Linked DNA regions of Homo sapiens: regions 1, 3, 4, 5, 6 and 7 are each linked to region 2. The links are contacts of gene promoters, found by promoter capture Hi-C in blood cells and fetal thymus (Javierre and others, 2016). All regions are on one chromosome and are shown on one strand. Each heading gives the region's core, a stretch centred on a gene start or on the middle of the fragment in contact. The rest is flanking DNA. Distances are from core to core; before and after follow the strand shown. Region 1 has its middle 230 kb from the start of MIR3146. Region 2 holds the start of FERD3L (Fer3 like bHLH transcription factor). Region 3 has its middle 160 kb from the start of MIR3146. Region 4 has its middle 190 kb from the start of MIR3146. Region 5 has its middle 210 kb from the start of MIR3146. Region 6 has its middle 140 kb from the start of MIR3146. Region 7 has its middle 250 kb from the start of MIR3146.

Region 1 (3,496 bases), core at 586-3,085, 330 kb before region 2:
AATGTGAATATAGGCTGAAAATTTTCTTAACAGAAATATATTGAGCCAATGATTCAGAAAGCATTATAAACACTAAGCAAGAAATATATAAAGAAAAACACACCTTGGCATGTTGTATTACATAATAACTGGTAAAAACAAAACTGAAAATATTGCAAGTAGCCAGACGAAAAAGATACATCATTTGCATATTGAGTTAGATATTCAGTGGACATTTCAACAGACATGATAGAAAACAAAAGACAATGAAATAGCTTCTTGAACCTATAGAAGGAAATTAATTTCTATTTTAGTCTGTTCAGGCCATTGTAACAAAAGTGCCATAAACTCTGTGGCTTATAAACAACCAAAATTGATTTCTCATAGTTCTGGAGGCTGCAGAGTCCAAGATCAAGACACTGGCAGACTTGACATCTGGTGAGTACTGCTTTCTGCTTACCAGACAGACGACTCTTTATTGCATCCTTACATGGAAGAAGGAGAAAAATAGCTCTCTGGGGCCTCTTTTATAAGGGCTCTATCTCTAATCATAAGGGCTCCATCTTCATGATCTAATAATCTCCCAAAGGCCTCACCTCCAAATGCCAATATACTGTGAGTTAGATCTCAGCATGTGGATTTGAGGGACACACAAATATTCAGTCTATAACATTTCACCTGTGACTCCCCCCCAGTTCATGTCCTCACATACAAAACACATTTATTCCATCCCAATAGCCCCACAATTCTTAACTCTTTCTGGCATCAACTGTAAGTTCTAAGTTCAAAGTCACATCTAAACATCATGAAAATCAGGTATGGGTTACACTCAAGGTGAAATTCATCTTGAGGCAAATTCCCTTCCAGCTGTGTATATAAAATCAAACAACTTATGTGTTTTCAAAATACAATGGTGGAAAAGCACAGGATGCATTCCCAGTCCTAAAGGAAGAAATAGCAAAGAAGAAAGAAGTGAGAGACTGAAAGCAAGTCCCAACCCAATAGGTCAAACAACATTAAACTTTAAGGCTTGAGAATAATGATTTATGACTAAACGCTCTGCCCTCCAGGCCTACTTGGGCATAGGTCTCACCTTGAGAACCCCCTGGGGTGGGGGTACTGCCTTCTGGATTCACTGGGGAAGTGGTCCTCCCTCCACAGCTTTGCCAGGCAGGGGTTGAGCCCCCATGGCCATTTTCTGTGGTAACTCTACCTCCATAGCAGCTGTTCCTGGGTCACGTACCTGAGGCTCTCCCAGCCTGGAATTGCATGCCAGTAAGCTTTACCAGTCTGGCGTCATGGGGACAGCACTGCATCTGCTGTTCCACTGGCACTGCCCTGTCAGGGGCTCTCTGTGGTGGCCCCACACTCACTGGGCTCTTGAACTCTAAATCTGTGTTGGGAAGGGCAGCCCTGATGATTTCTATCTTTGGGGTCATTATTCCATTATCTTGGATAATAGGTCCTAATTCCTGTTAGCTGACTAAACTTAGCTGATGGTTGGTTGGCCACACCCTTCCTGTTCTCTTCCAAATAGGTTCTCTCATTCTTTTCAATGTAAATAGGCTGAAAATGTTTCAAATCTTCAACTTCTGATTCCTTTTTGATTCACAATTTCATCATTATGTTATTTCTCTCTTCTCATGTTTTACTATAAGGAGTCTTAAAAAACCAGACTGTCAAGATGGCCAAATAGGAACAGCTCCACTCGACAGCTTCCAGTGTGAGTGACACAGAAGATGGGTGATTTCTGCATTTCCAACTGAGGTACTGGGTTCATGTCACTGGGGCTTGTCAGACAGTGGGTGCAGCCCATGTTGCAGGGCGGGGCATCACCTCACCCAGGAAGTGTAACGGGTTGGGGAATTCCCTTTCCTAGCAAAGGGAAGCTGTGACAGATGGTACCTGGAAAGTCGGGACACTCCCACCCTAATACTGTGCTTTTCCAGGGGCCTTAGCAAACGGCACACCAGGAGATTATATCCCGTGCATGGCTAGGAGGGTCCCATGCCCATGGAGCCTTGCTCACTACTAGCACAGCAGTCTGAGATCAAACTGCAAGGCGGCAGCAAGGCTGGGGGAGGGCCGTCTGCCATTGCTGAGGCTTAAGTAGGTAAACAAAGTTCCCAGGAAGCTAGAACTGGGTGGAGACCACTGCAGCTCAAGGAGGCCAGCTTGCATCTGTAGACTCCACCTCTGGGGGCAGGGCATAGCTGAACAAAAGGCAGCAGAAACTTCTGCAGACAAACATCCCTGTCTGACAGCTTTGAAGAGAGCAGTGGTTCTCCCAACACAGAGTTTGAGATCTGAGAACGGACAGACTGCCCCCTCAACTGGTTCCCTGACTCCCGAGTGGCCTAACTGAGAGACACCTCCCAGTAGGGGCCGACTGATACCTCATACAGCCAGGTGCCCCTCTGAGACAAAGCTTCCAGAGGAAGGATCAGGCAGCAACATCTGCCATTCTGCAATATTTGCTGCCCTGCAGCCTCTGCTGGTGATACTCAGGCAAAAAGGGTCTGGAGTGGACCTCCAGGAAATTCCAACAGACCCGAAGCTGAGGGACCTGACTGTTAGATGGAAAACTAACAAACAGAAAGGACATGCACACCAAAACCCTATCATCAAAGACCAAAGGTAGATAAAACCACAAAGATGGGGAGAAACCAGAGTAGAAAAGCTGAAAATCCTAAAAATCAGAGCACCTCTTTTCCTCCAAAGGAATGCAGCTCCTTGCCAGCAACAGAACAAAGCTGGATGGAGAATGACTTCAACAAGTTGAGAGAAGAAGGCTTCGGATAACTGGTAATCACAAACTTCTCTGAGCTAAAGAAGGATGTTTGAACCCATTGCAAAGAAGCTAAAAATCTTGAAAAAAAAATTAGATGAATGGCTAACTAGAATAAACAGTGTAGAGGAGTCCTTAAATGACCTGATGGAGCTGGAAACCATGGCACGAGAACTATGTGATACAGGCACAAGCTTCAGTAGCTGATTTGATCAAGCGGAAGAAGGGGTATCAGTGGTTGAAGATCAAATGAATGAAATGAAGCAAGAAGAGAAGTTTAGAGAAAAAAGAGTAAAAAGAAATGAACAAAGCCTCCAAGAAATATGGGACAGTTGCAGCAGTGCAACTGTCTGACAAGAGCTTTGGCTTCTACCCCACCTCTATAGTGAGGAAGTAGCTTTGTCTCCTGTCTGGTAGGCATTTGCAGAGGCTGTGCGTATGAGCAGAGCCTGGCTACCATCCCAAGGTGACAGTAGGGAGACAGTTCCCCTCCTGACACTGGTAGGCATCTGCAGAGTTTGTTTGAGTAAAGCCTTACTATCATCTCACACAAGCAGTTAAAAGCCCTTCCTGGCTCCTAGATATCTGCAGAGATTATGCGTGTGAACACACCCCTGACTACCACCCTAGCTTGACTGTCATGACATTTAAATAGGAAACTGAGTCATATCATAATACCTCAAATTTCTAAAATGCAATACAAAATAACTCTTCGTAACTAGAAACATT
Region 2 (3,464 bases), core at 873-3,372:
TAAATATCAACCATGTTTTCCTTCATTGTTTTCCAGTGTATTATATTGCGAAACTAGATTCTCAATTGACTGAGGTGTTTAATCCACTTGCAAATAGATTGTAAATGAATACAAAATAAGTCACTGAGAAGCATTTAACATAATTTAAAAATCAACAAGAAATTTGTCCAAATATTTAATAACATATTAATTTAAACGAGGGTTAGCAAGCATGTTACTACTTTTTTGAAACAAAAATCAGTTCTCCCATTTACTAGCTTCATAGCCACTGTTGACAATCCTATTATTTATTTTTCAGCCTTCCCTTTGAAAGATGCTTAGCAAAAATCAACTAAGTAACAACCAAAGATCTCATTCTCTTTAACATCTTCCAGGATCACAAATTTCAATTATTCTCTGCCTGAGTTATCACAATTCAAACTGGAGAATGAAGAGTAAACACAAGCAAAAGAAGATAAAATCTATTAAAAGATCGAGAGACACCAGACACAAATGGGTTAAAAGAAGAAGAAGAATTAAAGGTTATACTGTTTTGATTACACACATAGAGGCTAGGAAGAAGAAAATGAATTGAGATTACCTGTTAGAAATAGGCGGTTTCTGGTTTCTGGGAGCTGTCCAATGTACTGAGTGAACCATCATAACCACAACTTACCCCCTTAATAGGGACTGACGTCCTGGGCAGTTCTCTTTTGAACCGGGATGTTTCTACATTCATCTTTTTAGGCTATTTCTTCCAATCTACCTTTAAAATTATCTTCTAATCTGTCACTTTGACACAATGGGTCTTTTAAATAAATCTTTACACAGTACTGAATAATTAAGTAAATATAGTTATTGGCAAACAAAGAAAAAGAACCTTTTTGTTAAAATATTTGGGATACTCGAGATAATATAAAATGAGTAATCTCTTATTTTTCTTATGCCAAATTTAAAATCTCTTTCTTTTCTCAAAAATAACGATCTAACGATAGCCAAAAACTCCCTTAAATATATTTCAATAAATCATTGTTTCTGCACTTAAGTCTTACTGTAGGACAATACAAATCAATGAGGAAAATACGCCAGATGGAAGTGTTAGGTTTTTTTCTTTGTTCGGGAACAAATACTCGATCCGCAATTTAAAAGTCCGAAGACTCCTCAGCAGAGGGTGAGCTGATTGACTCTTTGGCTTATCAAGGGCAAATCGCATTTCTGAAAAGAGCTTGAAGTGGTTTTGTTTGTGAGGAGAGTTTGCTTTGTCCCCCACACTGAAAAGTATACAGCAAAGCCCGAGCATAGAAAATATCCTGAGCTTAAATTTCTCATTTTATTGCCATCATAACTTTTCCTCTTGGAATAAAATCCTCTATTTTATATGAGTAGGAGGTAAAGGTAGGGAAAGGAAAGTCAAGTATCTCAATTGTTACGCTGATTGCATCCAAACAGACTTTAGAAGTCAGGGTTTGTAACGTGGCAGGAGAGCTGTTTGCGATGCCCTGGAAAGAAAAGAAAGCCGGTTCCAACAGCGACTCTGGGGAATGCACTCTCGGTCCCCCTGCCATGCTTACTTAAGCTAATTGAAGGTCTTGCCTTTCAGCAGCCGCTGCACTGGGATACCAGACAAACAGCTCCCCTTGATGCCAGGCAGGCAGGGCCCCTCTTCAGGACATCATTAAAAGCACATGCACTTGCTCCACATCCATTGGCAGATGGTGGCAAGATTCAAGACTCCTACCCTGAAGTCAAGGAGAAGCCATCGCGGTGGAAAACATCCTCGCTTTGAAAATCCAACACGAAATTAAAGAACTACACGAGATAAGGAGCCTGGAGAACATTAGTTGGCTGCAGGGGTGAAGACAGACACAAAAAGCACAGCAGGTAAGAGCTGGGGGTTGTTGCCAACAAGGAACTGTCCCGGGTGGCGCAGAGAAAAGGATCTCAGAACTGGAGCCCTGTCCCTTTGAGTCTTCCATGCGTGCTCAAGCTTGTCATCTTCCATAAGCTTCGAGAGAAGGGACGTTGTCAGAGCATTCCTTATCGGTGCGACTAATCCTGTTATCAGCTTGGTTATAAATATTTAATGTTCCCTGGCCTTTCGGTGATGGTGCCCCATCAGATTCAAGGCTGTTAAGAATCCCCACCAGCAACCTCGCCCCTCCCTGCGGAAAACCGATGAGAGGCAGGGCCAAGCCGAAGCGATGGCGGCCTATCCGGAGAGCTGCGTGGACACTACGGTGCTGGACTTCGTCGCAGACCTGTCCCTGGCCTCCCCGAGACGCCCTCTCCTCTGCGACTTCGCACCCGGGGTCTCCTTGGGGGACCCAGCCCTTGCGCTCCGAGAGGGAAGACCCAGGAGGATGGCGCGGTTTGAAGAGGGGGACCCAGAAGAAGAGGAGTGCGAAGTGGACCAGGGGGACGGAGAAGAGGAGGAGGAAGAGGAGCGCGGAAGAGGTGTCTCCCTATTAGGCCGCCCCAAGAGGAAAAGGGTGATCACCTACGCCCAGCGCCAGGCCGCCAACATCCGCGAAAGGAAGCGGATGTTCAACCTCAACGAGGCCTTTGACCAGCTGCGGAGGAAGGTGCCCACGTTTGCTTACGAGAAAAGGCTGTCCCGGATCGAGACCCTCCGCCTGGCCATCGTCTATATCTCCTTCATGACCGAGCTCTTGGAGAGCTGTGAGAAGAAGGAAAGCGGCTGAGCCTGGTGTGGAGAGTCTGCCCTTCCTCGTCTGGTAGTGCTGGGGTGTGTCAGGACCGGGCACTGGGTGAGGCTAAAGGGCCGGGAGGGAGGCCCCAAGACAGAACGTCTGGTCTTCTGGAGGTCGGGGTCGAGATTGTAAGATCCCCACATGCGCTGAGCAGAGTGGCTGCTGTAGAGTTCATATCTACGCGACCGCCCTAAGTGAAGTCGGGGTCAGGGGCGAGCGGGGAAGTCAGAGAGCGTGAGGCTGAGTCGGGGCCGTTCAGGCTGCTCCTAAGAGCTTCCGTGGGCTGGGTGGGTGGGAAGTGAACCCTCCTCGCAAATGGCAGACTTTGGAGCTTCTATAAAATCTAACCTCTCTTCTTTACATTTTTTTTTTCATAGAGATAATAAAGTAGAAATTCTTACGTTTTTAAAAAGCCTGAAGGGTCGGTGGTACGCCATCCCCAGCAGGCGCTCCAGCGGGCGCCTGCGTGGAGGGTCTGAAGCAGACGCCGCAAGGGTGCGGGGGTGCGAGCTTTTCTGCTAGCCAGAGGGTTCTGCCTGGTCCTCCGAGGCTTGTCCAGGAACTGAGGAAAGGAAAAATGGAAGGCAGAGCAGTCGAGAGGAACTGCTGACAAAGTGCGACCTCTGAGAAGGGACACCCTTCCTGTCTTCCATTCCCTCTCCCTCCCGTCCCTTCCTCTCTCCCGCGCGCAAGCCCTCTCTCTTCCTTTCTCCCTCCCCTTCGCCACCTAGTTGATCCCAGACGGACCACAGCTCCTTGTCCCAGGGCCACAGT
Region 3 (3,671 bases), core at 1,151-3,650, 400 kb before region 2:
TAAGACCTAAACCACAAAAACCCTAGAAGAAAACCTAGGCAATACCATTCAGAACATAGGCATGGACAAAGACTTCATGGCTAAAACAGCAAAAGCAATAGCAACAAAAGCCAAAATTGACAAATGGGATCTAATTAAACTAAAGAGCTTCTGCACAGCAAAAGGAACTATCATCAGAGTAAACAGGCAACCTATAGAATGGGAGAAAATTTTTGCAATATATCTATCCGACAAAGGGCTAATATCCAGAATCTACAAAGAACATATAAATTTACAAGAAAAAAACAACCCCATCAAAAAGTGGGCAAAGGATATGAACAGATACTTTTCGAAAGAAGACATTTATGCAGCCAACAAACATATGAAAAAATGCTCATCATCAATGGTCATTAGAGAAATGCAAATCAAAACCACAATAAGATACCATCTCACACCAGTTAGAATGGCCATCATTAAAAAGTCAAAAAACAATAGATGCTGGAGAGGATGTGGAGAAATAGGAACACTTTTATACTGTTGATGGGCATGTAAATTAGTTCAACCATCGTGGAAGACAATGTGGTGATTTTAGAACCAGAAATACCATTTGACCCAGCAATCCCATTACTGGGTATATACCCAAAGGATTATAAATCATTCTACTATAAAGACACATGCACATGTATGTTTCTTGCAGTGCTATTCACAATAGCAAAAGCTTCAAAGCAACCCAAATGTCCATCAATGATAGACTGGATAAAGAAAATGTGGCACATGTACACCATGGAATACTATGCAGCCATAAAAAAAGATGAGTTCCTGTCCTTTGCAGGGACATGGATGAAGCTGGAAACCATCATTCTCAGCAAACTAACACAGGAACAGAAAACCAAACACCACATGTTCTCACTCATAAGTGACAGTTGAACAACGAGAACACATGGACACAGGAAGGGGAACATCACACACCAGGGCCTGTCAGGGGTTGGGGGTCTAGAGGAAGGATAGTATTAGGAGAAATACCTAATGTAGATCACGGGTTGATGGGCGCAGCAAACCACCATGGCATATGTATACCTATGTAACAAACCTGCACATTCTGCACATGTATCCCAGAACTTAAAGTATAATTTAAAAAAAGAAAAAAATAGTAATAATAATAAAGTACACAATAAGCATAATGCACTTGAACCATCCTGAAACCATCACCCCCTACCTCCAAAACCGGGTCTCTGAAAATAACTGTCTTCCATGAAACTCATCCCTGGTGCCAAAAAGGTTGGGGACCACTGTTCTACATTATAAACGCCCCCATGCCTTCCTTTCTCTACACCCAGAGGCTCTGAGAATTTAATTCTATTAGCTGAACAGTAAATTAAAGGTAAGAGAATAAACCTCACACTGGTAAATCTCTATGACATCCTGCCCACTGCAGAAGTTTCTCAAATCTCATTGATTCATATAACTCGTTTTGACTGAATATAAAAGATAAATAGCTGTGTCTTTTGACTTCTGTTTAACGCAGCTTCAATATAGTACCTGTCCATCCAATAGAGAGAACTGTAATGGTGATTATCTAAGCCAAGTGACACTGCCGTTTCCCACATATTTTCACCCCAATTTCTGAGAGCTCTCCCAAGATTTCCAGTCTCAAAAATATGGCACCTCTTTTCAAACCTCTCCGTTTAAGTCTCCTCCCTCCCCTACCTTTACACCGTCTCTGGGACTTCATTACATTTTCCTTCACCAGCCACTCACCAGATGCATTATCCCAGCCCTCTGAGAAATGAAAAGTGAAAAGTGGTTCTTTTCGAAACTAGATAGAGAAACTTCTGTCTTAATATTTTTCTGAAGCTTGCTTTTATTTTCCAAATGATCTGGGTTTGGCAAAATCCTTTTCCTTAAGTAATAGACAAAAACATGACATTCCAAAAGGGAAATGGCAAACCTAAACAATACCGTGAAGATTAAACACTCGACCCTTTTTGTTCAGCCCAAATAATCTTCCCCAAAATGGAGACCCTCTTGCACTTCTTCGATAGCTAGTATAATAGGATATGCATTGCTGTCACTTAAATTGGGGTTTTATTTTATTCCTTCTCTTCTTACATAGACTTGTAGATGACAAGTAAAAATCTTCATTTATGTCTAGAGCCCAAGGCTCTTAGAGCAGAACTTAAACCCAGAGTGAAGAAGTCAAATAATGTTTTCAGCCTTGTGGTTAGATACCACTATTATCCTCATTTTAGAGAAAGTAACTGAGACACAGCATGGCTAACTAATTTGAACAAGATTCCACAATTTTAAATTTTGAATCTGGAATTAAAATCTTGGTTCTCTTTTTCCAGAGCCTTTGACCTTAACCCTGTGCTATGTGGCCTCTCCACTACTCTATTTTTATATCCCTTTATGAAGTATCTGATTCTGGGAATGTATTTCCATTTTGAATTTGAAACAAGCCATTGCTATTGGTCTGAGACCCAAAGTCTCTATAACTTTACATTGCATATATAGCTCTCTAGTTCTGATCTTAAGACTGAGAATCTTAGATTTTGATGTTCATTACAGTGATGAGCATTTTAAAAAAAATCCTTTCGGACAAATTCTTAAGAACAAAGCTCCTATTAAAAGATTCTTTATTCTAAAATAAATATCAGAAGGGAAAGTTCATATTGAAATTATTAGAATACTTCATAAAGCAAAAGAAGAAAAAGATGCTGAGGGAAGAGAGAGCCCTCAAAAATACCCTCTGAGCCATTTTAGTGAGTTTTCTAAACATATTGTACCAACCTTAGTTATCCATCCTCTCCAGCCTCAGGCTGGGGCAACTTCTGAGGATGGTGGAACATGTCCTGTTACTCCTCGGGGCTCTTGTTCTCTGCCAATGGGACCCTGGTAACTTAATGGAGAGAATGCACTGCCGTTGGGGATGTGTCTCATGCCCCTGTAACATCAAAGAAGGTCTTCTCAGGCACTGTCAAAGCTTGTTTTCCTGCTCTATTTTTAGTAGCAGTCAATATATAGAATCTGAACATTTAGGCCTATTGGGGCTTCATGGCCTGTCATCATAACTAGTAATGACAACAGAACTCAGTGAGGATCTGTATCTCTGCTCTTTCAGGTTGAGACTTGCCCATCTCATATTCCTGTCGTGTTGTACAGTCTTAGTCCTCTCTATGAAAAGCAGGTCCCTGAGAAACACTAAAGTTGTACCTTAAAATCTGTCAAGACGCTTTCATGTTTCTCTCCCCCTTTCTGGCAACTCCTTTCACCTTTGAAGGATCCCGGCGATTCAGAATTTCTTTGAAAAGCAGGAATTTCTTGAAAGTAAGGTTCAACTCAAGATGAAGAAGTGAAAATAAGTACTGTCAAAAGCGATTATCAAGGGTTTCACACCCAGAACAGAAAGTAAGCAGGTACCAATGCCTACAGACGCTGATGGATTTACAGCATTTACAGTAGACGGTTAATGAGGTCATCCAGAGTCAAAGAGCAAAATCTTGCCGTTATTACCTCGGGGTCCTTAAGCAGGCCCTCAGCCATAACTGTGAGTACCATGTCTTCTCAGGTACATATGTTCCAATTATCTCCATAGCCTTTAAGCGAGTAGCTTCAACAAGTCCATTCTATAACACTGTTCCCTAAGCAGGACAGAGCATTCTGAACCAGCCCCTGTCCCTAAGTTTCCCTCT
Region 4 (3,550 bases), core at 1,034-3,533, 370 kb before region 2:
TTGAATATTAACTTAACACACTTGTTAAGTTAACTGAACACACTTGTGTTGTCTACTCTGACATAGGAACTCTTAACAACGATGAATAGGAGACAGTTCTTGTCTGAAAGAACTCACCTTCTCTTGAGGGAGACAGACATAAATAGTGATGTGCCAGTAGGGCATATGTAGGATTAGGCATAAATTTTGAGAATAGGAAGACAGAGGAGATACAACAAAACCAGTCTGGGTGTTCAGGGAAGGTTTCCTGTTAGAGGAAACACATGCATGAGCAAAGACTTAAGAGGTGTAAACAAGACATGGCACATAAGCAATTAGCAGTGATGGGCTGAAGAAAGTAAAAGATAACAGAGGATCTTTCATGACATGAAGAAAAGCTAGGACTTGATTCTGTACTGATTGAGTACCATTGATAGATTTTTTTATTATTATTATGCTTTAAGTTCTAGGGTACATGTGCATAACGTGCAGGTTTGTTACAGAGGTATACATGAGCCAGGTTGGTGTGCTGCACCCATTAACTCGTCATTTACATTAGGTATATCTCCTAATGCTATCCCTCCCCCTTCCCCCCAACCCCACAACAGGCCCCAGTGTGTGATGTTCCCCTTCCTGTGTCCATGTGTTCTCATTGTTCAATTCCCACCTATGAGTGAAAACAAACGGTGTTTGTTTTTCTGTCCCTGAGATAGTTTGCTGAGAATGATGGTTTCCAGCTTCATCTATGTCCCTACAAAGGACACGAACTCATGGTTTTTTATGGCTGCATAGTATTCCATGGTGTATATATGGTACATTTTCTTAATCTAGTCTATCATTGATAGACGTTTAGGTTAGTTCCAAGTCTTTGCTATTGTAAATATTGCTGCAACAAACATACGTGTGCATGTGTCTTCATAGCAGCATGACTTATAATCCTTTGGGTATATACCCAGTAATGGGATGGCTGGGTCAAATGGTATTTCTAGTTCTAGATACTTGAGGAATCGCCACACTGTCTTCCACAATGGTTGAACTAATTTACACTCCCACCAACAGTGTAAAAGTGTTCCTATTTCCCCACATCCTCTCCAGCACCTGTTGTTTCCTGACTTTTTAATGATCACCATTCTAACTGGTGTGAGATGGTATCTCATTGTGGTTTTGATTTGCATTTCTGATGGCCAGTGATGATGAGCATTTTTTCACGTGTCTTGGTTGCATAAATGTCTTCTTTTGAGAAGTGTCTGTTCATATCCTTTGCCCACTTTTTGATGGGGTTGTTTTTTTCTTGTAAATTTTTTTAAGTTCTTTGTAGATTCTGGATATGAGCCCGTTGTCAGATGAGGAGATTGCAAAAATTGTCTCCCATTCTGTAGGCTGCCTGTTCACTCTGATGGTAGTTTCTTTTGCTGTGCAGAAGCTCTTTAGTTTAATTAGATCCCATTTATGAATTTTGGCTTTTGTTGCCATTGCTTTTGGTGTTTTAAACATGAAGTCCTTGCCCATGCCTATGTCCTGAATGGTATTGCCTAGGTTTTCTTATAGGGTTTTTATGGTTTTAGGTCTAACATGATAGATTTTAAGCAGAAGGAGGCGGACTGTGAGGTCGTGTTACAGTCTATCAGCCACCCAAGTAGCACTGAATTAAGAGATTACTGTAATGATCCAGGTGACAGATGATAAGGGCTAGAACGAGGCTGATGATAGCAAGGATGTAGAAGATAGAGAAGACTGAATAAAGACTTCGGGGAAAGAATAGGTAGGACTTGAAATTGGCCATGAGGCTGAGAATGATGGGGAAGTAAGGATGACTCCAAATTGGTGATGTGATGGATAGTAAAAATATGAACTGGGATGGAAGATACCAAAATAGGAGTATACATATTTAGAAGGAGCTACTGAATTCAGGCTTATTCATATTGAGTTTCAGGTGCTTATGGAAATGTCCAGTTAAGAATATAACAAAAATGCTGAGTGAAACTATCCAATAAGTAGTTAGTTTAGTTCATCTGATACAGGCTAGAGAGTTGGGAGTCATGGGCCTATGAGTGACTTCCAAATCTTAAATTATATAGGATCACTAGAGACAGAATTCTGAACTTCAACACATAAGAAACAGATGGAAGAAAAAGAAGCTGAGACTAACATGAAAAGAAAACCATATTGCCACTTTTCTGGGATTACTTCGTAAATACATGGATAAATATGAAGTCAATTACCCAACTTTAGACTTTATTTAAAATATGTTTAATCCACATGTCTCTGTTCTAAAATGTGTAATACAATAGCAAATTACTGGCTTTATAAAGGGTTTTAAGCTCATGTGGAAGTCTGAACTGAGAACACTTTTGATAGAATTACTTGCTGCTACCATTTAAGAGACAGATACCTCACGTTCAAGCAAGTCTGAGTGCATGGATCTAACAGCTCCTGGCTTTAGAAAGAGTTCTCTATGTGTGTAAAAACCTAAGAACTAGTTTGTTTTCCATTAAAAGTTGTGCTTTCTTCTCTTTACAGCAAAGTCCAAAATGAGATTTAGAAGACTACTGCTGTGCGAAGAAGCCAAGTTATCACTAAAATAGATGGAGCAAAAGAATTTAACAATGCTTTCACAGCTGAGTATTTAATCCTGTAGAAAGATGATGGCTCTGATTATAAAGAGATAATGATGCAGAATGTACGAGAAGGGAATTTGAATTTCTAAGAAAAAATGTTTGAGAAGGAGAAAACTGCAAATTCTGTGAGAAACAATGTTTTAAGTGCCTTCTAATAAGGTGTTTCTTAAGATGAGATGGAAAGGACATACTTCCTCCTTATCTAGGTACAGATGTTACTCACTTGTGTAAGACTGAGATATTAATTAAATTTGAGCATGCTAGGTAGAGCAAAGGCCAAGAAGATACCTCACAGATAGCCATAAATTACCCCTAGAATCTGAGCTAGAATCTGAGGTTAGAAATTTTGTCTGTTTTGTTCTCTGATATATCCCACGCACTTAAAACAGTATGATACCTACACCAGGCACTCAATGAATTTTTATTGACTAAGTGGTCAGTTTAACAAAGTCTAAAGTCTTAACTTTATCAGCACATCTAAAGTTTATCCACGTCTTAGGGGTTCACTTCAGCAATTCAAGAGAGAGTGGTATCAAAGAAGAATGATCATTTATTAATTTTGAAGAGAAAAATCATCGTAGGAATAATCAAATGTGCAACATTAACATAAATAACTTTGTGGTCTAGCTAAGTACAAAGCTAAGTCATACCCAGCAAGAAATTTTAAAATTTACAATGAGAAATATAACTTTCCTAGGAATCACAATGTTAATGTGTGTCAGAAGAGCAAATTAAACCCCTGTAAAAATCAAATGGGAAACAACATTAAATGAAAATAAACATGTAATCCTTAAAAGGAAAAAACTTTAAAAGTACAATCTTAGTGGATCCTGATAAGAAAGGCTGTTGTAGTCATCTCAAAACAGGACAGAATACTAAAGTTCAGTGTCTATAATCTCCTTCATTCTGCAACACATATGTTAGCTTTGCCAAGGATACAGAATGCAGAAAGT
Region 5 (3,707 bases), core at 898-3,397, 350 kb before region 2:
TAGCACAAAAATTTGAGGTAATGCTATTTGGTATTCAAAAATGCTACTCTTATTCAGCAAATAAAATACTCTCGTCATTGATGAACAAATAAAAATGGATGATCAAAATAAAAAACGGAGGTAATTGAAGACCAGATTTTCCTTACTCTCATCCATATCCTGGTTTCCTTCACAACTGTCATTCTTGCTAGACTGCAAGATCAACATAAGATGCAGAGGTACTTCCCCAAATTTCATAAGGCTGGACCTTCTAAACCCTGGAGGAAATCATTTGGTCTGTCATCTATAGTTGTTCTAATTCTCTGATTAAATACCAACTGGTATGTTAGGTTATGATTTTCATCCATTTTAATGGCAACATTTTTCTGATGAGTTGTTACCTATAGGAAACTTATGCCAATTATTTTCATCTTTAAAAAAAATAGATAGGGTCTCACTCAGTAGCCCAGGCTGAAGTGCAGTGCTACTATCATAGCTCACGGTAGCCTCAAACTCCTGGGCTCAAATGATCCTCCTGCCTCAGCATCCCAAGAGGCTGGGAATATGGTCATGTGACATCACATGTGTATACATATCTTTTAAATTTTTGTAGAAATGGGGGGTCTCGCCACATTGCCCATGCTGGTCTTGAACTCCTGATCTCAAGCGATCCTCTCATGTCCGCATCCCAAGTAGCTGGGATTACACACGTGAGTCTATGCTGTGCTAGACTTCACGTTTTCTTACATAGTATCTTAGCATGTTGTTGAATGTATCCTTTTTTCATTACTATTTTTTAATAAATTATATTTCCCAGAATTATTTTCCAGTGCTTTCTCTAAGGATTGGAGTTAGATTAAGATATCTGTCCAAACTACACAAATATAAGAGCTCTCTTCTGTTGCTACAAGATGACCCATGGTCTTAAATTGAGGTTCCTCTATGTAACCATTTCTCCTCTGAACCTCATAACTTAGGCTAGTAGAGGAGAGTTTATACCACCAGTTTTAAGTTTTACTATTTTCTTTACAAACTGCATCTCAGGTTACTGTTATCAAGGGACACACAGCCTTTGTCTTCCAAGATGATGGCATCACGGTTACGTGTATTTGGCTAGTGCTTTTGAAATTAGCAACTTCCTTGCCCCACCGAATACTTTCTAGGCCTTCTTCCTCAAACTCGCTGTGCCAGGGTCATGTTAGGTCTCAGCCTTGCTGCTAGCATCTCTACCCTAGAGTGGGTTCTCTTTTTCTAGAAATGAATACTTGTTAAACTTTCTCAGCTGTGCCACTGACCAATCTGATAATTAATGAAAACGGAGCAATTTGGCAACTAATAAAGAGGGAGGATTAAGACATTAAACTAGTCAGCCCTAGATTAGGAAAATACTATCAGCTCTCTCAAAAGTCTTCATAGTGTAAACTAAAAGCCTGCTAGATTTTGTTGTAATTAATTTAAAATTTAACCTTTAAAACTATTTCTAAACTCTATCCCATTAAAATGTACTAGGGAGTGAACTGATCATATAATATACCTTGTGTTCTGAGTTTCTGTCTCCATTCCAGTGCTTCCATTTCAATGTGGCCCCTTACTTAAGGCTCTATGTCTATTCCCCGACACCACACATAAAGGTGTCACATTCATTTAGATCTTAGTTGCATGCCAGTTGTTCTAATTAGGAATAGAAACTTGTAGAAGTGCCCCCCTCCTGGCTTTTTCTACTGTGCCCTAGCACCCCATCTCCCTATCCACTGCCAACCCTACCCACCCACATCTGTAAAATTATGTTGTCCCTAAGCTCCATCTTCCACGCATAAAAAGAGAATGCTACTTTAAGCAAAATAGGATGGTTTCTGTGTTAGAACTGAGAAATTCCACACTTGGTCAAATTTTATATATTGGTAGACCCCGTTACTAACGATAATGATAATACAAATAGTAATGTTAAATTAGCTTTGGATTGACTTGGTAGACTTTTCTGAAAAATATCATGAAATATGTGCAATTTTACTAATTTAATGACAGCTTTCTAAGCATGCCATGGTAGAATTTCTTTAAGCTTATATTTTGAAAGTATCTAGAGAATAAGTAAAAAGTAACATTTAACTCATGTGAGTAAAACATTCTTTGTGTTACAACTATTAAGTACAAAATGAATTCAGTTTAAATGGGAGATTAAGTGATTTTCAAATAATTCAAGCCCAGTTTTTCTTGCTGCAAGGCATTTTAACATTTAGTTTTTTTCAAGTTCCAAAATATGCCTGATTTTAAGCTTACTTTGGTATGTATGTTCAAAACACACTTGACAAATAATAAAAGTCGAAACAACAACCATTTTACTGTGCCATATTCAAAAAGCTATTATGTTAGACTTGGCTGGATAAAAAGTATGAGAATTTCACAGTCAGTACCTTCTGTATCAAATATACTATTATTTTTAAGTAATTTCAATTTTAAATGCCAAATTAGAACATGTGATATTTATTTTGAGAAGCTGACAAATTAGCTAAATGAGAAAGAGTGAGTTCTTCACCAATTTGAGAATAATCAGCAGAGTCCTGGAGAATTCTGACACTTCTTGCTCTAAACATACTCTTACCTCTCAAAGTGAGCTGTGTGAACTTGGATTTTGTTTGCTATTATAAACCTTTGAGTCAGGAATGTGCAGTTTCTCAGATCCCCAAAGAGTCATTTCAAAAGATTAGGAATCATAGTTTTTCTTCTCCAAAAATGTGTTATAAAATGACAGGTTAAAAATCTGAACATTGTGATGGTTTATGAATAACTATTCTGGCTCTAGACAAGAAGCAGGACACTTCTGTTCTGAATAAATTTCAGTCCCAAGGGGTTGTGAACTTAAAAGAGTTAGAATCATCTGTTTCTCAGGTGCATAAAAATAAGAACAAATAGATTATCTTTTTTCCACAGTGGAACAGAAAAATGCGTGTACTTGTCTGCACCTACTATTGGTGATCAACCAAAATAAAAATAGTTACCCCATCAACAGAACTCAGAGGGTAGAGATAAATCATGTATGATAAAATACTTGAATTTTTAATCAAATTGGCAAGAATGTTCCACACAAAGGTCACTTTCTCCAGGGGACTTTCCCTTTGTCTTTTGATTTGACTTAGTCTGTGTTCTCTATCCTTGTAAGCAATCGATGCATTCCTTTACTATTACAATCTTCCATTATAGAAACAATGTCGTTTATTTCTATACTTTTAATGATATCAACCATTAAAACTGAAACTTCATCAAGCAATACATTGCTGCATCTCAACACCTAAAACGGTTTCTAACACATAATAGGCACTAATAATTATTAGTTGGCATAATAAGTAGGCATTTAATAATTATTAGTTGCATAAACGATTTGGATTTCAATAAACAATATATCTAATTAGTCAGCACTGATGCCAGAGGAAGATTACAGGTCAAGCTGTATTGTAAAAATAAAAAGCACCACATTATAAAGATTTTCAAGTTGTAGCCATAAACTAAAATGCTACAAGTCACTTTTGTTGCAGTTAAATTTTAATTTGCTCACTAATATATAGCAACTATTGATGCAGACGATTCCACAAGAGAGGCCAGAGATAGTGAGGAGACCCCAGAATATTAACCAAACCATATGTAAGTAAAAGCTCGTGAGGGGAAAACTGAAAATATATCTTGGTGAGAGGGAACCCAAACTCATCCACCCACAGGAAACCCCAGCATTTTTT
Region 6 (3,521 bases), core at 1,005-3,504, 420 kb before region 2:
CCACCACAGAAAGTTAGAATAAAATGTCACAAAATAGAAACAAATAGATAGATAGGTATTTCTGCATACTGCAAAATGATCAAAGGCATACAACAAAATGAGATATGTGTTTACTCTTTAAAAATTGCTATTGCCAGTGAGGTAGCTCATGCCTGTAATCCCAGCACTTTGGGAGGCTGAAGCAGGTGGGTCACTTGACGATAGGAGTTTGAGACCCAGCCTGATCAACATGGCGGAACCCTGTCTCTACTAAAAATACAAAAAATTTATCCGGGTGTGGTGGCAGGCATGTGTAATCCCAGCTACTCAGGAGGCTGAGGCGTAAGAGTCACTTGAACTGGGGGGCCGAAGTTGCAGTGAGCTGATATCACACCACTGCACTCCAGCCTGGAGGATAGAGTGAGACTCTGTCAAAAACAAACAAGCAAACAAAAACCTGCTACTACATTGGAGGAAACCAATGGAACATCTGTGGGCTTCTTACCCAGGGATGCTCAAAATACCACTGACCTCCACCCACCACTACCACCAAAGCTCAGGCAGTAAAAACTGGAGCTTTATGAGTGGTGAGTGATGGTTCGCACAGTTCAAGATTGACGGCACAAAGGTTTACTAGCTATGCTGGTGGACTCATTCAGGAAGAGAATATAGGAGACAATAATTGGCAACTATGATGGCCAGGTATTATGGTCTCAATGTGGGGTGGGAGGCAGAACATTAGAATTTAAGGGAGAAATCTTGAAATTGAGTTATAGAAGGCATAAAATAACAAACTCTCCACATCTTTGGTGGACTGCTAAGCTATGCCTTAAGTTGGAGACCTGTGACTGACCAATGAAAAGTAGAAGAGATTCTTGAGTCATGAGTAAAATCCAAGTCACTTGTGATTTTGAATGTAGTCCTCTACCTACGCAGCCCAGTTAGCAGACAGTGGAAGCCTTACAAATTTGAGGTGATTCAGCATAGTTTCTGCCCAAATCACTGGGTAAATGTGAAAATACTCAATCCTCTAGGGATCAAGCTACAGACATGTTGAGTGGAGATATATGCAGCTATACGCAAGAGGAAACGGATTTCCCAGGATGAATCTAATCAATTAACGGAAACAAAAAACCTTAACAAGTAATTACAGCAAGGTTATAGAATAAAAGGTTAATATACAAAATCAGTTGCTTTCTTATATATTAGCAATGAACAATTATAATTTATAATTAAAACACAGTATCATTTATATTAGTGCCAAGAAAAGAGTGAGAAAGAAATAATTATGTACACATCAAACAAATTATATACAGGATACATGGGAGAAAACCTAGAAAATGCAATGAAGAATCAAAATCTAAATAAATAAGGACAGTCTATGTTCATGGAAATAAAGACTCATGAAAATGTCATTTCTTCCCCAAATGAATTAAAAATCCAACACAATCCCAGTCAAAATTCCTGTAAGTTATTTTGTAGATATTAATAAACTTATTCTAGGGTTTACATGGAAAGGAAAAGATCCAAAACAGCTAACACAATACCAAAGATAAACAAGGTCAAAAGACTGACACTAACAACTTCAAGGTTCACCATAAAGCTAGGATATTCACAACAGTGTGGTATGGTGAAAGAATGGACAAATAGATCGATGGAATAGATAGCCCAGAAATAGACCCACCAAAATATAGTCAACTGATCTTTAACAAAGGAGTAATGGCAATTCCAAAAGAGAATGGATAGTCTTTTCAACAAATGGTGCTGAAACAACTGGACATCCATAGGCAAAACAGAACTAAACAAAATAAAAAACAGCCAGATAGGCATTTTATGTCCTTTGCAAAAAAAATTAACTCAAATGGATCTCAAACCTAAGTACAAAATGCAAACTTATTATACTTGTGGAAGATAAAGTGGGGTAAAATTCATGCAACCAGATTTGGTGATGAGTTTGTAGATAGAACACAAAAAGCACTAATCATGGAAGAAGAAATTGATAATTTAGATGTTATTAAAATTAAAAACTCCTGCTCATTGTTAAAAGAATAAGGAAACAAGTCACAGACTGGGAGAAATCATTTGTAAAATATATCAGATAATGAATTTGTATACAATTATATACAAAGAACTCAAAAACTCAACAAAAAACACACAACACAATTAAGAATGGGCAAAAGATCTGAATAGAGCTCAGTAAAGAAAATTATACAGATGACATATAAGCATAGGAAAAGATACCTCATATGAAGTATCTTTAAGAAATTATAAACAAAACAGTAATGAAATACCATTACACACCTAGTAGAGTTGCTAAAATTAAAAACAAACAAGCAAACATGATACCAAATGCCAGTGAGAATGCTGAGCAACAGGAACACTCAATCATGGCTGGCAGCAATGCAAATAGCTCAACTATTTTGGAAGACAGTTTGGTAGTTTCTTTTAAAGTTAAAAGTAATTTTACCATATGATCCAGCCACCATATTCCTAGGTATTTACCCAGTTTTGAAAATTTATGTCCACACAAAAACCTGCACATAAATGTTTAGAGCAGCTTTATTCATAAATGCCAAAAACTTAAAGAAACCAAGATGTTCTATAATAGAGGATGAAGAGACAAACTGTAGTGCATTTATGGAAAGAAATATTGAGCAATAAAAAGAAACCTGCCAGTGTTCAATAGCACTATTGGGTGAGTATAATTAACAATTTATTGTTTATTTTCATATAGCTAGAAGAGTGGATTTTGAATATTTACATTAAAATGGATACATGCTTGAGTTGCTGGATACGCTAATTACCCTTGTTTGATCATTGTACATTGTACACATGTATTAAAATGTTATGCTATACTCCATAAATATGTAAAATTATGTTTCAATTAAAAATAATAAAAGCAACACAAAACACATGTGCTATAAACCATGAAAAGACATGAAAACAATGTAGATGTATACTGTAAAGTGAAAGAAGCCAGTCTGAAAAGGCTCCATGCTATATGATTTCAATTATATGAAATTTTTGAAAAGGCAAAACTATAGAAATCATTTTCACTTACAGTATTTAATGGATCACTTTTACAATTTTGCAATTTTTAATGAATCAGTTTTACAGATATTTTTAGATCAGTGGCAGTCAGCAGAGAGGGAGGAGAAGGATAAGTAGGTGAAGTACATGGTATTTTTTAGGATGGTGAAACCATCCTGTATAAAACTGTAATGGTTAATATATATTATTATGCATTTGTCAAGCCCTGTAGAACTTTACAGCACAAAGAATGACCTTAATATAAACTATGAATTTTAGCTAATAATAATATATCAGCATTAGTTCATTAATTATAACAAAGGTACCATCCTACTGCAAGATGTCAGTAACGTGGGAAACGGTGACAGTCATGGTAGAGAATGGGGTTTGAATGTATGCAACTCTTTGTAATACCTGCTTAATTATTTTGTAAATCTAAGACTATACTAAAAATGGCCTATTTATTATTTTAAAAATCAACAACCCTAAAACAGAACAGAATCTAGTCACTG
Region 7 (3,439 bases), core at 171-2,670, 310 kb before region 2:
GAGATCAGACTGACATGGCTGCAGCCACCATTGAGCCATGGAGCATCAGGGAAACCAGGCTACCCTATGCACATCTAGGAAAACACCCACTGCTCTCCAATGAGCTGCTGTTGATACTGAGATGTGAGCAGACTGCAGTCCACACAGCTTCTTGCCCACACTGTCTGCCTGGGAGGTGCTTTGCCCTCCGTGGTTGTAGGGTCAATGTGCCATTTTGAGATTTCAACACCATGCTGTGTCCAGACCTCAGGCCAAGTTCAAGTTGACATGGCTGTAGCCACCACAGCATCAAGGACAGGGAAACCTGGTTCTCCTATGCATATCTAGGACAATATCTAATGCCTTGTTATGAGCTGCCATGAGAACAAGACTAGAGCATACTGCACTCCCCACAGTTTCCTGCCCATGCTGCTCACCTGACATGGGCCCACCTTATGTGGTCACAAGCCCCAGCTGGCACCATTTTGAGAGTTTAAGGTTGGGGTGTGCCCCACCTGCAGGCAGTTTGAGTCAATGTAGCTGTAAATGGTATCTAGTCAGGGGACAAACAGGGGAGAACAGGCTCTCTTAAGCATGCTTAGTACAATAACCTTCACCCTGCTATGGGCAGCTGTGGGACTGGGAACTAGCCCACCCAACCCATCAGAGCTTCCAACAACAGCAACACAGACTGCTTGGGTCCCAGGAGTTGCTCCACCACCACTACTACCATCGCCCACACCACGCCAGCTACCCAGTGGCCTGAGAAGCTACCTACATACCTGGTCCACCATTTCCATTACTAGCTTCTAAGCCGGCCAACTGGAGGCCCAGGAATCAGCTCTCCAGGACCCACTCACACCAGGGGCAGTGAAAGCTGCTCTGGGGCCTAAGAACAGGCATGCTCACCCTACTTCTGCCACCACTGGGGCCTGAAGACTGGGCTCAGTTGGTGTCCTAAGTCCCCAGCAAAACTTCACCACAACCTCAACTAACAACTGTACCCTAAGTCACTCAGGAAATCACAGAAACAACTGACCCTGTGTACTGCCAAAGATGACATACAAAGAAAAAACTACCCTAGGGACCCAAAATCAAAGCCAAAGTATTAAATTCAATAAACAGGATACATGATCCTCAGGAAAAAAACTCGCCTACAAAAGCAATTTCAAAATTTTGGAACAAGTGACTGCTACACCAGGTACACAAATATCATCAGGACACAGGAAACATGAAAAAGTAGGGAAATATGACACCAAAGGACCAAAACAATTGTCCAGCAACAGATCTTAATCAAAAAGAATTCCCTGATTTGCCAGATAAATAATTCAAAATATTGGTTTTAATGAAGCTTAATGAGATGCAAGGGAAATTTGAAAATCAACACAAATGAAATCAGAAAATCAGATCAAGATATGAAGGAGAAATTTAGAAAGGAGATAGATACATAAATAAATAAACAAATCAACAAGCAGAAATTCAGGAGCTAAAAAATTCATTGAAGAAAATTCAAAACACATTCTAAAGCTTCAGTAATCTGCTAGAGCAAGCAGAAGAAAGAATGTGAGAACTTGAAGACAGGTATTTTGAAACAAGCCAGTGAGACAAAACTAAAGAAAAAATAAAAAAGGATGAACAAAGCCTTTGGGACACCTGGGAATACATAAAGCAACGAAATTTATAAATTATTCTATAATAGATTTCATGTCTATCAAGGGAGTTAGACATCCAAATAGAGAAGGCCCAGTAATCCCCAGGCAAATACATTGCTAAAAGGCCTTTACTATAGCATATTATATTCAGAATGTCTAAAGTCAAGGTGAAAGAAATAATTTTAAAGTTAGCAAGAGGGAAAATGGCAAACAGGAGGTAGGACTAACTTGCAGCTCCCATTTGGACGGACAGAATAGTGCGTGGAGACTCATATTGTGAACTTTTGCTCTAAGAGCTACCACAGGAACATACCAGGAAAGCCAAGAGAATCCACAGACCCTTTGAAGGAGGCAGATTGCTACTGAAGCCTCCATGGGACAGCCAAGGAATTGTGAGTCTGTGAGTCCGCTTGCTTTCTCAGCTGGGAGGCTTGCAGCCAGGGGCAAGTTTTCAGCCCTGCTCACTGGCTGCCTGAGAAATAAACCCAGTGCAGTTGGTGGGGGCACAGTGAGAGTGAGATCAGCCTTTCTGGCTGTTGACTGCAAGGGAGCTGGGTGAGCCTGTGGCTACCGGCTTTCCCCCATTCCCTGGCAACCTGTATGACACAGCAAAGGCAGCCATAATCCTCCCTGGAAACCTTCCCTTGCAGCAGACAAACCAAGCCCCACCCAAGGAGAGTCTGAGTTCAGACAAGCCTAACCCTGCCCCCACCTGATGGTCTTTCTCTATTCATCCCGGTAGGCAAAGACAAAAGACATCATCCCTTGGGAGCCCTATGGCCCTGCCCATCTCTTGACCCTAGGGCAATCTTGAATCCTCCCTATACAAGTGCAGCTGATGCACCTTTGAAAGTACCCACCTCCTGGCTGGAGGCCAACCAACACAAAACCAGCACACTTAACAAAAATTTAACCAAGGATCTTCACAAAGTCCACTTCACTCCCCTGCTACCTCCACTGGAGCAGGTGCTGGTATCCATGGCTGAGACACCTGAAGATGAATCACATCACAGGACTCTTTGCAAACACTCTCCAGTACCAGCCCAGAACCAGGTAGCTCTGCTGTGTGGCTAGATCCAAAGAGAAATAACAATCATTGCAATTTGGCTCTCAGGAAGCCCCGTCCCTAGGGGAGAGGGGAGAGCGCCACATAAAGAGAGCACCCCATGGGATAAAAGAATCTCAACAGCAGCGCTGGAGTCCCAGATCTTCCCTCTGACACAGTCTACCCACATGAGAAGGAACGAGAAAAACATTTCTGGTAATGTGACAAAACGAGATTCTTTAACACCCCCAAAAGATCACACTAGTTCACCAGCAATGGATCCAAACCAAGACAAAATCTCTGAATCGTCAGAAAAAGAATTCAGAATGTCAACTATTAAGCTAATCAAGAAGGCACCAGAAAAAGTGAATTCCAACTTAAAGAAATTTAAAAAAAGATACAGAATATGATATGAATGGAAAAATCTCCAGTAAAATAAATAGCATTAAAACAAAAAATAATTATGAGTTCTGGAAATTAAGGACACAGAGAATTGCAAAATTTGCTGAAAAGTCTCAGCAGTAGAATCAAGCATGAAGAAGAAAGAACTTCAGAGCTCAAAGGCGAGGCTTTTGAATTAACCCAATCTGACAAAGACAAAGAAAAAAGAATTTTAAAAAAATGAACAAAGCCTCCAAGAAGTTAGGAATTATGTTAAATGAACAAACGTTAGAATAACTGGTGTTCCCAAGGAAGAAATCTGAAAGTTTGGAAAATGATATGGTTTGGCTGTGTTCTCTCCCAAAATTCATTTTGAATTGTA

Evidence for each region. The method cuts DNA at HindIII sites, captures the fragments that hold promoters and counts their contacts. A CHiCAGO score of 5 or more calls a contact.
Region 1: a fragment that was not itself captured here is called in contact with the fragment with the promoter of FERD3L in region 2 in 1 of 17 cell types (M0 macrophages); the score reaches 5.7 in M0 macrophages.
Region 3: a contact is called between a fragment that was not itself captured here and the fragment with the promoter of FERD3L in region 2, in 1 of 17 cell types (M1 macrophages). The highest score is 5.3, in M1 macrophages.
Region 4: a fragment that was not itself captured here is called in contact with the fragment with the promoter of FERD3L in region 2 in 4 of 17 cell types (M2 macrophages, M0 macrophages, M1 macrophages and 1 more); the score reaches 6.9 in M2 macrophages.
Region 5: a contact is called between a fragment that was not itself captured here and the fragment with the promoter of FERD3L in region 2, in 4 of 17 cell types (M0 macrophages, M1 macrophages, M2 macrophages and 1 more). The highest score is 7.8, in M0 macrophages.
Region 6: a fragment that was not itself captured here is called in contact with the fragment with the promoter of FERD3L in region 2 in 2 of 17 cell types (M2 macrophages and M0 macrophages); the score reaches 6.7 in M2 macrophages.
Region 7: a fragment that was not itself captured here is called in contact with the fragment with the promoter of FERD3L in region 2 in 3 of 17 cell types (M0 macrophages, M1 macrophages and M2 macrophages); the score reaches 9.1 in M0 macrophages.

The regions. Positions count from the first base shown.
Region 1 is chr7:19,478,306-19,481,801 of GRCh38, reverse strand. No RefSeq gene overlaps it. Among named protein-coding and RNA genes, the nearest start is that of MIR3146, 230 kb to the left of the region's middle. The HindIII fragment of the contact is 1,148 bases long and covers 1,262-2,409 here.
Region 2 is chr7:19,144,079-19,147,542 of GRCh38, reverse strand. FERD3L (Fer3 like bHLH transcription factor) reads left to right here and starts at 2,122. Exons shown (of 1, transcript NM_152898.2): 1 at 2,122-2,761. The coding sequence starts at 2,181. The coding sequence ends at 2,681. RefSeq lists enhancers at 1,076-1,724, 2,190-3,389. The HindIII fragment of the contact is 4,985 bases long and covers 1,987-3,464 here.
Region 3 is chr7:19,539,742-19,543,412 of GRCh38, reverse strand. No RefSeq gene overlaps it. Among named protein-coding and RNA genes, the nearest start is that of MIR3146, 160 kb to the left of the region's middle. The HindIII fragment of the contact is 1,129 bases long and covers 1,836-2,964 here.
Region 4 is chr7:19,515,251-19,518,800 of GRCh38, reverse strand. No RefSeq gene overlaps it. Among named protein-coding and RNA genes, the nearest start is that of MIR3146, 190 kb to the left of the region's middle. The HindIII fragment of the contact is 5,074 bases long and covers 1-3,550 here.
Region 5 is chr7:19,495,911-19,499,617 of GRCh38, reverse strand. No RefSeq gene overlaps it. Among named protein-coding and RNA genes, the nearest start is that of MIR3146, 210 kb to the left of the region's middle. The HindIII fragment of the contact is 213 bases long and covers 2,041-2,253 here.
Region 6 is chr7:19,564,626-19,568,146 of GRCh38, reverse strand. No RefSeq gene overlaps it. Among named protein-coding and RNA genes, the nearest start is that of MIR3146, 140 kb to the left of the region's middle. The HindIII fragment of the contact is 5,840 bases long and covers 1-3,521 here.
Region 7 is chr7:19,454,623-19,458,061 of GRCh38, reverse strand. No RefSeq gene overlaps it. Among named protein-coding and RNA genes, the nearest start is that of MIR3146, 250 kb to the left of the region's middle. The HindIII fragment of the contact is 176 bases long and covers 1,333-1,508 here.